Linked DNA regions of Homo sapiens: region 1 is linked to region 2. The links are contacts of gene promoters, found by promoter capture Hi-C in human tissues and cell types (Jung and others, 2019). All regions are on one chromosome and are shown on one strand. Each heading gives the region's core, a stretch centred on a gene start or on the middle of the fragment in contact. The rest is flanking DNA. Distances are from core to core; before and after follow the strand shown. Region 1 has its middle 59 kb from the start of RIT2. Region 2 holds the start of RIT2 (Ras like without CAAX 2).

The links. Contacts are between HindIII fragments. The study calls those that stand out against the background at their distance.
Region 1: a fragment that was not itself captured here is called in contact with the fragment with the promoter of RIT2 in region 2 in 2 of the 25 tissues and cell types used here (adrenal gland and pancreas).

What each region holds. Positions count from the first base shown.
Region 1 is chr18:43,172,618-43,175,777 of GRCh38, reverse strand. No RefSeq gene overlaps it. Among named protein-coding and RNA genes, the nearest start is that of RIT2, 59 kb to the right of the region's middle. The HindIII fragment of the contact is 4,069 bases long and covers 1-3,160 here.
Region 2 is chr18:43,114,407-43,117,575 of GRCh38, reverse strand. It overlaps RIT2 (Ras like without CAAX 2), which reads left to right and starts at 1,891. Exons shown (of 5, transcript NM_002930.4): 1 at 1,891-2,159. The coding sequence starts at 2,057. The HindIII fragment of the contact is 9,119 bases long and covers 1-3,169 here.

The DNA of each region.
Region 1 (3,160 bases), core at 179-2,678, 59 kb before region 2:
TATTTAAATTATTTTGAATATATTTTAAGACAAGGAGAAAAATATGAATTAAATAAAAGAAATCTCTCCTCAGCATTTTGAGAGAAGTAAAATAATGAAATATAATATTCTTAAGACACAGTACAGACTGTAAAATATAGTCTCAGATGATAAACCAGTGTAGGGGTTAATAGCTTGGACCCATTATTAACTTATAAAAATATTTATAGCACTAAATTGTAAACATCATGGGGTCAAATAATCTGTCTGCCTTGTTCGCTGTGTCTCAACAGTGCTCATATATTTCCTTGACATAGAACGTACTCATCAGGTGTTTTTGAATGACTCAGGGCTTATGACATAATACTCTGTGCTGGAAATCCAAAGTGAGTCCTAACATTATGCAGCTGGAAAGGCAAAAATGTAGTTATATGGCCTGGATATAAATTATCATGCCAACTTTAATAATAATACTGTTAATTTTAACATCCTTAATAGCTGTCTGAATATTAATTTCCTACTGATTTTCATCCAGTGTTGTACTATACCTGAAATTCAATCAAAGGGAAGGTTAAGATTCTTACAGACAAAAATAGATTGTGAATGATACCCAGGGAGTTTAAGCCATTCAGTAAGAGTCAAAATAATTATTACAGTGAAGAACATCTTCTGACTCCCTGTACATCATGCCAGCTGTGCCCAGGGAAAGCCCATTTTGTTCTTTCTTTCAGATCATCCAGATTGTTACTTGTTTGAGTTGCAAACTGATTGATTAAAGGGATTGTCCATGACTAGCTATCTGGATTTAGGAACAAGGAGTTGGGGCAAGGTGTTTATATAGATTGTCAGACAAGCTGTTCAAACAGAGAAAAAGCTGCAGTACAAAAAAAAAATTGTCAAAATGTCATTTTACGGCACTTCTTTTTAGTAAGCTGTTTTGTTTGTTAATTTGATCAATATCTTTTGAGTATATCAAGCTTAAAAGACATAATTGAAAACAAATTTGTTCAGTATGTGTTCCCTGCTTTCAAGGAGTTTCCAGTTTATTGCTAAGCTAGAAAATATTGATACAAATCTAGTGTCATGTGAATGATCCGATAAAGAATTACAGGGTAGAAGACAGAGTCACATGGTTATGTGGATGCATTTAGGGACAATATGATAAAGAGAACACAGATATTTGTTTAGAGATAGGTTTGATTAGATGGCCCCAAAGAATGATGAATATGGCATGCTCAATGTAAAAAAGGCAAGGCACAGTTTAGGTCAACGAGGTATCCAGAGAGATGGCATTTGTGTTTCATATAATAAGCTACTGGAAAGAAGAATGGAAGTGTTGTCATAATGTGGAAAGACTCTGCTTTCCAGATGCTGGCTCACTTATGAATTCTAATAGGTTGACTGTAGATCATTTTGGATATTCTTGGTGCACTCAAATGTTTTCTGCTAATAGTGACAGTTTTATTTCTTTTTTTTGCAATTCTTAAAAAATTTATTTTTATTTTTATTTTTATTTTTTGGCTAGTGTACTGACTAGGATCACCAACATAAGGCTGAAAAAAAGTGGAGATTGCAGACATACATTCTCTTATGAAAACAGGCATTCTTGTCTTATTTCCAATGCTAGAAACAACATTATTAATATTTCATGATTATGAATATTTGTTGTTTTAGATATTTCTGATATTAGAGAAATTACCCTGCATTTCTTGTTTTCAAAGCACTTTTATTATAAATTAGTGTTGAATTTTAAGAGAAGTTTGTTCTGAATCTATGGAGATAAGCCTATGATTATTCTTTTTCATGTTATTTATATTAACTTTTCATCCTTGAAATTCAGGAATATATTTTTCTTAATTTTAATATTGTCTACATTTTTCAATCTTTTGTTCATGTGTACTTACTTATATCCTGTTTAAAAATCTTTTGCGAAGCTCACGTTGTTATTTTCGTGTATTACTCTTTAGAAGTTGTATTATTTTACTGTAAGATTATATATATAGTCTACATGAGATTAATTATGGTTTACAATGTGAAGGTGGCTCAAGATTTATTTTTTGCTATATGGACATTCAATTGACCTAATGCCATTTACTGAAAAGATCGTCTTTCCTCCACTACTCAGCAGTATCACCTTTTTTGTAAATCTTATTTTCATATGTGTGTGGGCCTATTTTGTTCCCCTTGTATGTTGATTAATTAATGTTTTTATTATTATTTCATTGATCATTCTTGATAGTATACTAAATTCTTTTAATATTTTTCTTCACTAACACCGATTATGTTTTCTTGGTCTTTTTTGTTTTCTTACAGATTTTAGAATTAGTGTTACTGACAGCAAATTCATAGGGGTCTGCAGCAACCTCAATTTTTGCCCCCTCAGAAGAAAAAATTTGACCGAGGAGGAGAGACCGAGGCAAGTTTTAGAACGGGAGTGAAAGCTTACTGAGGAGTTTTAGGGTAAGAATGAAAGGAAGTAAAGTACATGTGGAAGAGGGCCAAGCGGGCGACTTGAGAAATCAAGTGTGCAGTTTGACCTGTTGACTTGAAGTTTTATACTTCCAGCGTCTTGTGTCCCTTCTCCCCTGATTCTTCCTTCAGGGTAGGCTGTCCACATGCTCAGTGGCCTGCTAGTGCTTGGGAGGGAAGCATGCAGAGTGTGTTTACTGGAGCTGTCCGTATGTTCCCTTGAGGCATTTTTCCCTTACCAGTCAAATGTTTCTAGCAGGTCATATACCAGTTAAACTCTTAATGCACATGCTTGAGCCCAGTCACCCAACTCCTGAGCTCATATTAGGAAGCTACTGATCACCAGGAAGCTGCTGATCACCAGGAAGCTGCTGATACCAAAGGACACTGCCTTTCCCTGGCTGTGACCAATCATTATTTTAGTGAGACAGTTAACAACTTCCTGAGCATCACCTGATGGTCACCTGACATTACTGGTGTGGGTGAGGGGAACCCTCTCCTGCCTGCCTTATGTCTATCTACCTACTGTAACATTAGCTTGTAAATACCTGCAAGAAATTTCTGCAGGAATGTTCATCAAGACTGCAATTAATGGCCAGGCGCGGTGGCTCAAGCCTGTAATCCCAGCACTTTGGGAGGCCGAGGCGGGTGAATGATGAGGTCAGGAGATCGAGACCATCCTGGCTAACACGTGAAACCCTGTCTCTACTAA
Region 2 (3,169 bases), core at 642-3,141:
ATCAGGGTTTGGATGGAGACAACCCAGAAGCAGTTAGAATCATTTCTGCAGCTCAAAGAAAAAACTGGGTCCAGAATTACAAACTTGGCAGTTACCTATAGAAAGATGATAAGTGGACCTATGACATTGACTGAATTCACAATCAAAGAGTAAAAAAGATAGAAAAGTGGGAATGGAATAATTGGGCAAAGTTTCATTTACAACCTGATGGATGATCTGTAAAAGAAAGAGATTACAAATTGGACCCCATCAAAATTTAAAACTGCTGATCTTTGAAAGCTACTGTTAAGAAAAACCACACACTAGAGGAAAATATTTGCAGAATATTTATATGATAAAAGACTTACATCCGAAATATATAAAGAATTCTCAAAGTGCAATAAGGAAATAAACACCTTGGTATAAAAATAAGCAAAAGACTTGAACAGATACTTTGGCAAAGAAGATATACAGATGGCCAATAAACACATGAAAAGATAATCTTCTCTTCTTGGGCGAGTGTTTGTAAACAGTAGACTGACAGCAGCACAGATTCAAAATAATAACATACTCTTCATATCATATACCTGTGTGGTACTTATCACTTGTCAGACACAGTTTTAAGCACTATATAAATATTAGCTCACTTAATGAGTTAACAAAGTAGGGTTTTAATTAACTATTCAGTGATAAAGAAATTGAGGCACAGAGAGGTGAAGGAATTTGCCTAAGGTCATATAGCTGGTAAGTGGCTAAGCCCAGATTTGAACACAGGCATTCTGGCTTCAGAGACTGTGCTCTTGGCTATAACAATTTGAAGCCTCTACAGAAACCAGCAAGTATATATTGAGTGCCTACTCAGTGCACATATTATAGAATCACAAGAAATGGACTAAATATAGTTCTTTTCCTAGTGGAGCTTAAAATCTAGATAGAAAGACAAGTCTAGTCTATGCACACCAAACACTTGTCTGCATCTGATAATGATTCAAGCTTTAGAAAATAGACAATAAACATGTTAAACATCATCATGTTGATTAAAAGACAGGATCTTATTATGACAATTAGGAATTATTGAAAACATTCTTGACCCTCTGTAGTTTAGAAGTTCTTTAGAGAAAAACAAAGACCGCAAAGCTTTATAAGAATTCAAACAGGTAATAATAGTTTGGACATTTAAAAATATTCTTCTACAATCTTTTATGCTAGTATAATTGTCAGTAAAAATATTTATCAATTATCTCTTTCATGCTTGATAGTCCTTGTGATTTAAGTTGTTTCTAATAACTTAACGTAAACAAGCATGAGCCTTGTCCAAATATGACAATGATCTAATTCAATTACCCCCCTATGTTAAACCTGCAACTGTCTAGTGAGCTGAACAATTCCTGTTAGCCGGCTGTTATTTCAATAACACTGAAGATCCATCCTTATGAGCCCTGAGTTACTGTTCTGTTTTGTTTTTGTTTTGCTTTTCCATTTTCCCGGAATGAAAACTGCAATAGAAGAGTGATAAAATGCAAGACTATAAGCAGAAGAAATCCTTATTAATTGACTTTGATTAAAAGAAAATAGCATCTTTGAAGCTGTACCTACAGAAGTCATCCTGTGAGACATAGCAACTCCTGTGAGGTCTCAGATTCACTCCATTCTAGCAGCGCAGCCTGAAAAGGGGTCGAATGTGTGTGTGCCACTGACAACTGTGACTGTGCAGGGGGTAGGCAGGAAAGAGAAAGGAGAGAAACAGACAGTGGGGAAGGGAAATGGAGAAAGAATCAAATGAGGGAGGAAATGAAAATGAGAGAGAGAGAGAGAGAGAGATTGTAGGAGACGTGAAAGAGTGAAGGATCGGAAGGAAGGGTGGGGGATGCAAAAGCCAGATTTTTATTGGAAGCAATTGAAGTGGTTGCTATGAGACCCGCTCGAGCGGAGGACCAGCAGCCAGCCCGACGCTGATGGTTCTTACCTCGTACTAAAACCTTTGCTTTGACACAGTTTTAGAGTTGCTTAATATTCGAGCAAGCACCTGACACGGGTGACTTTCTCCTTCTTTTTTTCCTCCGGTCCCTCGGGTAAGATGGAGGTAGAAAATGAAGCCAGCTGCTCCCCGGGCAGCGCATCAGGCGGGTCCAGAGAGTACAAGGTGGTAATGCTGGGAGCAGGGGGAGTTGGTAAAAGCGGTAAGTTTTCACACCAAATGCTGGGGAAGGAGGGACCTCTATAGAGACAACTCTATAGAGTGAAAGAAAAATGATATTGCTGATGCTGTTAGAGGTGAACTGTGGCAGTTAAACACAGAGTATGGGTCTGGCAGGATGCTCCAAAGTGTCAGGACTGTTAAACCGATGCTGATGAGTCAGGATAATGCAGACAGCCAGTGATGATCCTCAGAACCTTAAGAGGATGATTGTTTTCTTTGATTTCATGCTGGGTGATATTTGCTCTTAGTGTATAGGTCTTTTTTAATAATAAAAATAAGTATGAAATTGTCATGGTATGAGAAAAATGTGCTCCTAGTCTCAAAAATCTTCACATAAAGAAAGAAGTGCTATGAATATTCAATTAAACACAGTTACAAACACAGACATATACTCGGGATGATGGGTGTTGATTGTTGTGTTTGTTTCTTTCATTAGGAGGTTCTTTTTCCTCATCTGTAGTCTGACATGGTGTGTGTGGGCTTTGAATACCAAAAGAAAGTTGGTTTTTGAAAGTGGCAGTGATTTATGGAATGATATTCATTGTGAGTCCTGTGCAGGGTGATCAAACTAAACTTTGTGGTCAATTAAAGGAGAAAGCTACACAAATAAATGAAGATGAGGTGATAATAGAGATGAAGAATAGCAAATTTCTTTTGGTACATAAAGAACGGAAGTGTCAGTTGTTGGGATTCTTGAGGAGCCTAAAAGGCCAAATATAAAAAAATTAAAAAAATAGATACATAGTAGTTTTTTGGCTGATCAAATGTTAGATAGCTCGGAGCTATGGCTATCACTAGAAAATAAATAAATATAGCTTTTTATATAAATATTAAATATCTCCACTGGGAATATATCTTTGGGAATTCTAAAAGGTAGAAAAAATATTATAGTTAGCATGGACAAAAAGCATCAAAACAAATCAGTAGTTTTAGTGTTGACAAAAAAATTAAAAGACGAAGACAATATTTTCGGCAGAAGAAACCAAAAAA